Linked DNA regions of Homo sapiens: all the other regions are linked to region 2. The links are contacts of gene promoters, found by promoter capture Hi-C in blood cells and fetal thymus (Javierre and others, 2016). All regions are on one chromosome and are shown on one strand. The core of a region is centred on a gene start or on the middle of the fragment in contact, and the rest is flanking DNA. Distances in the headings are between cores, read along the strand shown. Region 1 holds the start of LOC101928236 (a long non-coding RNA gene). Region 2 holds the start of SELENOT (selenoprotein T). Region 3 holds the start of SLC33A1 (solute carrier family 33 member 1).

The links. Contacts are between HindIII fragments. The CHiCAGO score rates a contact against its expected background, and 5 or more counts as called.
Region 1: a fragment that was not itself captured here is called in contact with the fragment with the promoter of SELENOT in region 2 in 1 of 17 cell types (naive CD8 T cells); the score reaches 5.8 in naive CD8 T cells.
Region 3: the fragment with the promoter of SLC33A1 here is called in contact with the fragment with the promoter of SELENOT in region 2 in 4 of 17 cell types (non-activated CD4 T cells, naive CD8 T cells, total CD4 T cells and 1 more); the score reaches 11.1 in non-activated CD4 T cells.

Annotation. Positions count from the first base shown.
Region 1 is chr3:157,171,449-157,174,870 of GRCh38, forward strand. It overlaps LOC101928236 (a long non-coding RNA gene), which reads left to right and starts at 2,252. Exons shown (of 10, transcript XR_007096141.1): 1 at 2,252-3,107; 2 at 3,301-3,422. It also overlaps the pseudogene RNA5SP146. RefSeq lists enhancers at 2,901-3,422, 3,387-3,422. The HindIII fragment of the contact is 1,335 bases long and covers 1,504-2,838 here.
Region 2 is chr3:150,601,636-150,604,960 of GRCh38, forward strand. It overlaps SELENOT (selenoprotein T), which reads left to right and starts at 1,686. Exons shown (of 6, transcript NM_016275.5): 1 at 1,686-1,864. The coding sequence starts at 1,728. It overlaps LOC124900547 (a long non-coding RNA gene), which reads right to left and starts at 1,548. Exons shown (of 2, transcript XR_007096128.1): 1 at 1,309-1,548. RefSeq lists enhancers at 1,475-1,554, 1,675-1,824, 1,797-2,570, 1,845-2,144. The HindIII fragment of the contact is 3,294 bases long and covers 1,158-3,325 here.
Region 3 is chr3:155,852,267-155,856,104 of GRCh38, forward strand. SLC33A1 (solute carrier family 33 member 1) reads right to left here and starts at 2,161. Exons shown (of 6, transcript NM_004733.4): 1 at 957-2,161. The coding sequence starts at 1,731. LOC105374174 (a long non-coding RNA gene) reads left to right here and starts at 2,487. Exons shown (of 3, transcript XR_924607.4): 1 at 2,487-2,812. RefSeq lists enhancers at 1,749-1,818, 2,189-2,748. The HindIII fragment of the contact is 4,607 bases long and covers 1,402-3,838 here.

The sequences.
Region 1 (3,422 bases), core at 921-3,420, 6.6 Mb after region 2:
TCTTAATGGAAAGACTGACACAAGAAATACTGTGGTGTGCTAGAATGTGGTGCATACGTGTGTATACTAGGGACTAATGTGGCTGAAGAGGTGGGCGAGGGCAGGCATGTCAGGCATGTGAAGGGCTGAGGAACAGACCCTCATTTTAGGGGACTCTCAGAAACTCTGGAGGGTTTAAAGCAGTGTTTACCTCAACAAGAAAATCAAGAGCTATAAATCAGAAACTGTAATATTAAGAACATTTAGTTTTTCAAGCTTTTCTAGTAGTTCATTTCTTTTTATTGTTTGTCTCTAATAATTACAAAACTTGAAAACAGGAGAAGGAGGGCTACAGAAGTAGCTGGGGCTGGAGCAGTGACTTCAGGGACTGGAGATAGCCCTGTACAATTAAAAATAGAAAGGACCTAGCAAGTCCCTGGAAATGACATTTTTAAAATGATTCCATTTTCCTCTTAAGGATTAAGTTGTAATTTTATTTTGAGCAATGAAGTGGCTGACCCCTTTTAGTAATGTTTTCTATTTCATAATAAACATTCAACAGAAATAGAATTTCAAGAGGAAACTTTTATAAATAATGAGAATCAGCTATTCCGAAGCTCCCTACACATTTTAATTAGTTTTCTCCCAGGAACACATTCATTAACTATTTTGAACACTATAAAACAAAAGTAAACCAGCACCACATCAAGTTCCCTGCGTATAGCTGTCATGTCTGTTTAAATTCTATAGCAGTTTGTGTGTGTGTGTGTGTGTGTGTGTGTGTGTGTGTGTGTGTCTTGTGATATTTTTCACAATTCCAGGCCAACTACTTTGAAGCATGTTCCTAAATTTGGATGTGTCTGATTATTTCCTCATGATTAGATTCAGGTTAAAGATTTTTCAAGGAATACTCCATAGGTAATGTTGTATCTCCATGCTTCACATCTAGGGGCACACGATGCCCAATTTTTTGTTCAATTATTGGCTACTTTTTATCATTTGTTAAGGTGGTATCCATCAGATTTCTCCATTGTAAAAGTACCTTAACACCCTTGCAATTAATAAGTAATCCATGGGATTATTCTTCCACAGTAAATAGCATTCTAACAAATATCAGTATCAAAGAAAAATGGCCCATAATGAAATTTTGTACAGTTAGAATGACTCTAACAAATCTCTACTGAGTATTCACTAAACTATGTTATGCTAGGCACTAAGACCAAAGTGATGAACAAATAGAGTACATGGAATGCTACATGAAAGGGTAGAATGCTACAGGAGCATACAGGAGAGGAACAAAGACCATTACATGTGAAGAAATGGAAGTTCAGAGATGTGAAAGGACTCGACCAAGATTTTAGATCCAGTAGCAGAGTGAAATTAGAACGGTGGTTTTTCTGATGCCCAGTCCAGTGTTCTTTCCATGACCACACACAAGGGCTCTACTGTAATGTTGGTTCTCTGGAACAAGTATAGCATTTGTTACCACAGTGAAAACAATGATACCTTAGTACTAAAAGAACAAGCTTTCTCCAGATCTACCACAAGGTGCTTTAGAGGGAATTTCGATTTAAACTATGTGCATTGTAACATTGAAGTCACTGGAGACCTAGTCTAGTTTTGCCTCAGGGAACTGTTTCTTTATAGTGTCACTGTCACACACACATGCACATACACACGCAGGCACATGCATACAGCACATAACTGGATATTGCTTATCAGCCCCATCTTAAAAATAGCACAGAACAAGACTTTTATTTTCAGCAATCAGGAAACGTTCAGAGGTATCTACATCCTAGTCTTGAGAGTCGACTTATATTTGATACCTGATTTTTATAGTTTTCACAGCATTTTCATATACTATCACTGGACTCTCAAAAACAACACAGTTAAGGCAGGTGTGATTGGGCACAGCTGTAGTACCAGGTACTCAGGAGACTAAGGCGAGAGGATAACTTGATCCCAGGAGTTCAAGTCCAGCCTGGGCAACATAAGGAGACCTCATCTCTTAAAAAACACCTGAACTGGCCAGACGCGGTGGCTCACGCCTGTAATCCCAGCGCTTTGGGAGGCCGAGGTGGCTGGATCACCTGAGGTCAGGAGTTGGAGACCAGCGTGACCAACATGGTGAAACCCCGTTTGCGGTGTTAGCCAGGTGTGGTGCCGCATGCCTCTAATCCCAGCTACTTCAGGAGGCTGAGGCAGGAGACTCACTTGAACCCAGAAGGCGCAGGTTGCAGTGAGCCAAGATCGCGCCCATTGCACTCCAGCCTGGGTGACAAGAGCAAAACGCTGCCTCAAAAAAATACAAAAAACACAAAAAAAAACCCCACCTGAATTATTTCTTAAGGTGGGAAAGAGGGATCAGTGTAAAATGTTGGCTGGATTACTGTCTTGCCTTTAGATATAAAAATATCTAGTGTATACTTAATTTTCAGAATTACAAAATTAGGGAATGATCAAACGTATATATATATTTTATTTTTCAAAAGCCTGCGGCACCCAGTGTTTCAAGGTGGTCTCGCATTCAAGGACTAGCTAAGCAGGTCAGACCCTGCTTAGCTTCCAAGATCAGAGAAGACAGGGCAAGTTCAGGGTGGTGTGGCTGTGGACCATGTTTTTATACCTATAATTTATTTATATTCATTCACTCAATCCTGCTGTATGCAGGACGATCTCAGCTTCAAACTCAAAAGCTGGATCTGGTGGTCAGCTCTTTCAGGCACTGTTTTGTCATGGGATTTAAAGATCTCTTGTGCTTAGTTTTGGATCTGTAAACATAAATCCCAACCTGGATTCTTCCCTGGGCTGACGGAGTTCAGGGAGAAAGGTAGCAGTAGATAAGTCATATGCTGGAAAAGCTTGGACTCTACCCTGTCATGAAAACTTTCAGGAACATTTCTTATTTCTTTTTAGAGACAAGGTCTCACTATGTTGCCCAGGCTGGCCTCGAACTCCCGGGCTTCAGCAGTCCTCCCGCCTCACCCTCCGATGTAGCTAGGACTACAGGACCGCGACCCGGCGCTGCCTAAGAACTGTTTTTAAACGTGAAAGCCACGGCTATCATTTGCTTTTTGCTCTGCTCTTCATCTTCTGGATAAACCTCGTAACACACTGCTTGTTTTGGGGTAAGTGAATTTAAGTATTATTATGGCATTTCCAATTTTCACGGAAGGACTCTGGCGATATCATAATCGTCACAAGCCCTGAAACGGCCATCAGAGGTCAAGCAGGGAGGTGGGTTTTCTGGAGGGCTTAACTGTGGGGTAAGTGACTGGAGGGGGCTGATCAGTTTCCCCTTTCCCTTTTCCCGGAGCTCAGTGGTAGTCTGCTGCCTACGCCCCGTCAGACAAGTGGCCTGAGTCCCCCGCAACCCCTGCAGGTCCGGCCGCCGGCGCCAAGCCTCAAGGCATCCAAGCCAGGAACGATCGCGGTCAGCTCTG
Region 2 (3,325 bases), core at 436-2,935:
GAACCCCCTTGGACACTCTCTAATTGGATGTCCTGGGTACTCCCAATTCTTAGTCCTTTAATACCTATTTTTCTCCTTCTTTTATTCGGACCTTGTGTCTTTCATTTAGTTTCTCAATTCATACAAAACTGCATCCAGGCCATCTCCAATAATTCTATACGACAAATGCTCCTTCTAACAACCCCACAATATCACCCCTTACCCCCAAATCTTTCTTCAGTTGAATCTCTCCCACTGTGGGTTCCCACGCCGCCCCTAATCTCGCTCGAAGCAGCCCTGAGAAACATCGCCTATTATCTCTCCATACCACCCCCAAAAATTTTCGCTGCCCCAACACTTTACCACTATTTTGTTTTATTTTTCTTATTAATATAAGAAGACAGGAATGTCAGGCCTCTGAGCCTAAGCTAAGCCATCATATCCCCAGTGACCTGCACATATACATCCAGATGGCCTGAAGCAACTGAAGATCCACAGAAGTGAAAATAGCCTTAACTGATAACATTCCACCATTGTGATTTGTTTCTGCCCCACCCTAACTGATCAATGTACTTTGTTGATCAGTAATCTCCCCCACCCTTAAGAAGGTTCTTTGTAATTCTCCCCACCCTTGAGAATGTACTTTGTGAGATCCAACCCCTGCCCCCAAAATATTGCTCTTAACTCCACCGCCTATCCCAAAACCTATAAGAACCAATGATAATCCCACCACCCTTTGCTGACTCCCTTTTCGGACTCGGCCCGCTTGCACCCAGGTGAAATAAACAGCTGTGTTGCTCACACAAAGCCTGTTTGGTAGTCTCTTCACACGGACATGTGAAACACTGTGGTCAATTTTTTTTCTTTTTAATAATAATTCTTTTTTAGAAATATGTGCTTAAATAATTGTAAGCCAGGCATAGTTGCCTGTGCCTGTATTCCTAACCACTTGGGAAGCTGAGGCAGGACTGCTTGAGCCCAGGGGTGTGAGGCTGCAGTAAGCTATGATCACGCCACTGAACTCCAGCCTGGGTGACAGTGAGACCGTGTTTAAAAATATATATATACAGATGAAATGATATGATGTCTGAGATTTGCTTCCAAATATGCCTAGGAAGGGAAGAAGTGTTTAGAGATATAGACAAATCAAGATTGTCAAAATGTATAGTAACTGTTAAAGCTTGCTAAGGTAGTTATTCTATTTTTGGATATGTTTGGAATTGTCCAAAGGTTTCCTAAAACTTATGTTTAATATTCTTTCAGGAGAAAGCAATATTGTAAGATCAAAGAAAAGGCCATAACAGCGCACCCAAAAAATTTCAGCATTACCATTCTGAGGGTCAGGAGTCTCCTCCCTTCCATCCGCCAACACTTGAATCAGGACTATAAAGTAGGTGTTTCCAAGTCTCAGGCAGGTAAATGGATAAATTGCAAAACTGGATGCAGAACTCACATCTGCCTCATACATAGGCCCTGTGACACCCCACCAGCTCCTTTGCTCCCTTTCTGCCTTTCTCATGCCGTCCCAGAGTCTTGCACACTACCAAGATGGTGGTGAGTCAGGACAGTGAAACAGGTCGGCTCTTCACTCCAGGAGTGTGCGCGGGCGCCGGGCCGCGCAGGCGCATTACTGCTCCCCTCCCCCGACCTTGGCTGATCGCGCCTGCGCAGTGGGGAGCAGCTCGCTCCTGGGCTTTGGGCTGGCTGCAGTCTGTCTGAGGGCGGCCGAAGTGGCTGGCTCATTTAAGATGAGGCTTCTGCTGCTTCTCCTAGTGGCGGCGTCTGCGATGGTCCGGAGCGAGGCCTCGGCCAATCTGGGCGGCGTGCCCAGCAAGAGATTAAAGATGCAGTACGCCACGGGGCCGCTGCTCAAGTTCCAGATTTGGTGAGTATGTGCACTGGGCCCCGGCCACCCCGCCGCGCCTCTGCTCGGCGCCATTGGCTACGCGAGGCCCCGGCTTCGCGGCCTAAATGGCCGCATCTTCGCTGGCCTCGTAGAACTGTGCCGGCGCCCTTCCACAGCCAGCCTTCTCGCGGCCCCTTAGCGCGGTCAGGCCGCCCTCCTTTTCCAGGTATAACTGCTCACTTGTTTTTTGCCTCCTAGAACAGTGGGAATGGGGAAGGAGGGCGCGAGAAGGTTAAACGCTGAAAGGCGAAGACTGGGGGACACCTGTTAGTACGGAGGACTGGTTGGCGGCGTCACGCCATAGCCACCCCGGCTGCCTGCGGAGATGGGGATGAGTAGGCGCCGCGTCGGCGGAGGAGCGCCAACCGTTTGTCAGTTCACTTTTTCTGCCCTCTTTTCCGGGGTAATGCCGGGCGGCTTCGCTGCCTGGCTAGATGAAGGTTAATTCGGGTCATTGGAGAGGATCCGGGAGTGACAGACGCCGTTTTTCTCCTGAACTTGCTGGGGGGACTGTTGAGTTTGCGAATGGGGCGTCTGACAGCTGGAGGGGGTGGAAGGAAGGTCTGGGGATGCTGGTTCTGTTTGCCATTTCCAAAGTGTCAGAAAAGGAGCACGTTGTTCTTCTAAACATTGACAGTTCGCTCGCATTCCCTCCTCACCTGCCTCCCAGGAGTTGCCTGCTCTGGCATCTCTTTCTACCTTTCAGTTGTCTTGTGTATCCAGCAGATCTCGGCAGTTTTCGACAGTGTTCTTTAAATGATTTTGTTTTTAACCTAATCGTTAGAAGCAGGGCAATGATGCATTTTATACGGTAAGTGGGGTTGCGGGTGGGGATTGAAAGGCTCTGAAGATGGGGGAAAAAACACCAAAATTGTAAAATTATAGAAATGAGAATCTTACACCTCCAAAGATGACATTTTCTCAGGATAAACCGACCATCCCAGAATAGCCAGATTAGTAAATCATCAGAGTCCGGATACATTGGAATGTTGGTGTTGGACATCATTCATTTAAAACCTTCTTTTAAGAACTTCATGTATTAGTATATTAAAGTTTTGATTTTCTACTTCTCCAACTAGCTTTTTACTTACTCACTGAAGACCAAGCAAACCTTTAAAATAATTTTTAAAAATCGGCTTAAGGTGATGTTTGAGTTAGAAAATAAGATGGTGAGACTTTATTTTTTTGAGTGAAAACTAAAACATTGCAATTTCTCCTGATTAAAAACAAACAAGGCCGGGCTCGCTGGCTCACGCCTGTAATCCCAGCACTTTGGAGGCCGAGGCTAGCGGATCACCTGAGGTCGGGAGTTCGAGACCAGCCTGACCAACATGGAGAAACCCCCATCTCTACTAAAAATACAAAAATTAGCCTGGCGTGGTGGCGCATGCCTGTAATCCCAACTACTTGGGAGGCTGAGGCAGGAGAATCGCTTGAACC
Region 3 (3,838 bases), core at 911-3,410, 5.3 Mb after region 2:
GGCCAACATAGTGAGACAGCCCCCCCGACCCCCAACTATCTCAATTAAAAAAAAGAAGAAAAAAGAAAAAAGAGAAAAACTTACATGTGTTTTACTCATGCAGAGAAACAGGGAAATTTTTTAGAACTTACCCTCCATTACTTACAGGACAAACTTTAAACTCTTTTCCCATAGTAATTAAAGAAAATCTTACTAATTTAGTCACAGCCTTTCTCAGCACGATTTCCCAAACCCAGTTCCACAATTTAGGCAATGTCCTGTACTTTTTTGTACTTTCCTGCCTCAGTGCACTTTTACTTTGTGTTGTGCATTCTGGTGTGCCATTTCCTGGCCTCGTGGAATCTTATTCAAGAACAAAGTCAAATGTTATCTGCAATGTGAAGCCTGACTCCCAAAGGCAGTTACTAACTGGCAACTCTGAACTCTCCTAAAATGTTCATCTTCCTTATTTCTTGAGTGCAGAACTCTGCCTTATTCATTAGAGGCCTTAGAATCCCGTCCCTTAGCTGGTTCAATAATGTTTGAACGAATAAACCCTGTTCCATTCACTAGAAGGCTGGATTCTGGGTACAACGGTAGGGGTAGAAATGGATTAGAAAGTATAGAGCTAGAAACCTAAAACCAACAAGACAAAAGGAAAAATGTGAACCATATGAGCCACACTTTTTAAAAGTGTGCATTTGTGTATTAAGCAAGTGGCATGAATCCCTGGACTCGGTTGTGTTATTTGATGGGTTGCCTCTCCCTGTTAACCGCATAGTGATCATTTGATTGCTCTAATATCATTCATTTTGGCTTTAATATTTCAAAGAAGCTCATTTGGACGAAACAGAAAACTTACCTTGAGTTATCTCCCATACAATGATTTCCAGTAAATTAATGAGCTTCCCTCCAACGTCACACACTCTTTCAAAAGGATAAATAAACCTAACACCATAATAGCTTAAATACACTACCTGAAAGAGTAACGATTCCTCTGGGTTGAGGCTGAAACCGCAAATATTTGTTACAAAAGTCGGCAGATTCAAGGGCCAAAAACAAAACATTGCCCAAAAAGTAACCCGCTGTTTGGCCCACCGAATTGCAAGTAGAAGCATAACCCACATTTTCCCTGGATAACATAGTTAACGCCCAACCATCGACGGCAATGTCCTGAGTGGCGGCCAAGAATTCAAACAAAAAGAACGCCACAGTGAGAGCAATCACGTCGGGTGTTCTGTCATCGGTATTCCCAAGCAAACGGTCCACCTGAGTGGATAAATAGATCATGAAGAGTCCTAGTATATACTGTGTCGGGACAAGCCAAGATTTGCGACGACCGAAGTTCTTAACGTAGACCGCATCAACCAACGGGGCCCAGAGTAATTTGAGACTGAAGGGCCAAAAGACAAAACTGAAGAAAGCTTGGTCTGTATAGCTAACATTTTTGCTTTGCAAAATGAGTGGGATGCTTCCCGCCAAGCCCAGGGGAATACCCTGAAGCACGTAAAGAAAGAGTAGTAGCAAAATGCTGCTTAGTTCGGCCCGGAAGCTCTGTGGGGCTTTTAAGAAGTCGCCAGTGCCGGTATCCCCCAGAAGAGCTTCTCTGTCCCCTTCCCGGCCCGCTGAGTCCAAATGACTGTCATCCCAACCGCCTGGCGGCAGGGGACCGCTCTTCATATCCAGAGAGTGACTGAAATTCCCTGGCCGCCGTTGCCGGCTGCTGTCCTTGTGGGAGATGGTGGGTGACATATCAGAGACGATGCAGAGCCCCGTCTGTGGGGGGCCGAGGCTGAGCGTTTTGGATCCGTCCAGTCCCAGGTCCAAGGCTGTCGCGCTGGACCAGGGTTTCGGTGGTTCACGGGATGGTGGCAGGGCTCAGAGCGATAAGGGCACTTCTTACTGCAGCCCGGAGTGCTGAAGCCGGGAGCCAGTCCTCTGGCTAGAGGCCCAGAGGATGCCTGGATAGGTGCCCCCTGGAACGGCGTCAAAGAGCCTGAAGGAGACCCCCGGGCAGCAGCGCCGGGCTCGAGGCTGGAGGTGTGTGCCGTGGTGCCAGGATGGAAACCAGCTCCTACCTGCGGCGGGATCGAACGGCTGGTCTCCCGACCCAACACCTCCAGCTCTCGCTGCTATCAATGCGGCAGAGAGCACTTTCTCTACAGGACTCCAGAAAAAGCATATAACTTCCTGCCTCGCGCTTCAGGAAGTGGTCCCAGTCTCTAACAGGTCCCTTCCCAGCCTCCAGAGCAAGCCAATCAGGGACACGCTCTCGTGGCCCAGTTCGGAAACAATGCTTGGTGGGAACCTGCAATCTTGGCTGCCGGAACCTTCGGGGAGGATTAACGCCGGCGCACCGTGCGGCCGGGGCGGGGCGCCGCCCAAACTCAGGCCCTGTGACAGCGACTGTGGCGGTCTGGAAAGCGTGGGCCTCGGTCATTGGGCACGAGCGGTCACGTGACAGCGGGTTCCTCCAGGCCAGCGCTGGTGGTTGAGTGATGTAATCACGTGGGGTCTGAAGTCTTCGTGGGTGTAGGTTTCTTCGTTATGCTGACGACAGGCAGTGCCCGAACTCTAGGCTGGGAGTTGTGCCATGCTGCTGCTTTCGTGGGCTGACCAGAAAAGGGTAGAAGGATTGACGTTTACGAAGTTTTTGAATCAGGAGGCAAGGTCGCCTTGTGCCCCCAAAAGGATAGAAAAAGGCCTGGCAAACTGGAGAATCGCGTCCTTACGGTGCCTACATATTTATAGTACGAATTAAACTGCTCAAGGGGTGCTAGGTTTGTCTGCAGTCCGTTTCTCCCTCATGGTGGAAGACGCGTGGGGAAACTTGGTAACCAACTCTAATTACATTGGTGATTGGAAGACTCGTTACATCCTGTTTTTATGTTGCAATAAAACGTCTTGTGGCCGGGCGCGGTGGCTCACGCCTGTAATCCCAGCACTTTGGAAGGCCGAGGCGGGCGGATCACCTGAGATTGGGAGTTCAAGATCAGCCTGACCAACAAGGAGAAACCCGTCTCTACTAAGAGACGTACAGGAATTTGAGAATCTGATTAATTTTTTTTCTGCTCTCTCACCTCTGGCAGAAAGATTATTATTTTTTTTTCTTTTGAGAGGAATCTCACACTGTCGCCTGGGCTGGTGTTCAGTAGGGCCATCTCGGCTCGCTGCAGCCTCCACCTCCCGGGTTCAAGCGATTCTCCTGCCTCAGCCTCCCGAGTAGCTGGGACTACAGGCACGCGCCACCACGCCCGGCTAATTTTTGTATTTTTAGTAGAGACGGGGTTTCACTATGTTGGCCAGGCTGGTCTCGAACTCCTGACCTCGTGATCCGCCTGCCTCGGCCTCCCAAAGTGCTGGGATTACAAACGTAATGGCAGGCTAGGCACAGTGGCTCACGCCTATAATCCCAGAACTTTGGGAGGCCGAGGCGGGTGGATCACGAGGTCAAGAGATTGAGACCATCCTGGCCAACACGGTGAAACCCCGTCTCTACTAAAAATACAAAAAATTAGCTCGGCCTGGTGGCGCGCGCCTGTAGCCCCAGCTACTTGGGAGGCTGAGACAGGAGACTCGCTTGAACCTGGGAGGCGGAGGTTGCAGTGAACCGGGATCGTGCCACTGCAATCCAACCTGGCGACAGAGTGAGACTCCGTCTGGAAAAAAAAAAAAAAGGCAACTGTAAAGTCCTCTAATCTTTGTTAAGTAGAAGAATAGATTGCAGAAAAGAACAGTGTTGGCCGGGCGCGGTGGCTCACACCTGTAATCCCAACACTTTGAGAGGCTGAGGCGGGCAGATCACTTGAGGTCAGGGGTTCAAGACAAGCCTGGCCAATATGGTGAAACCCTGTCTCTA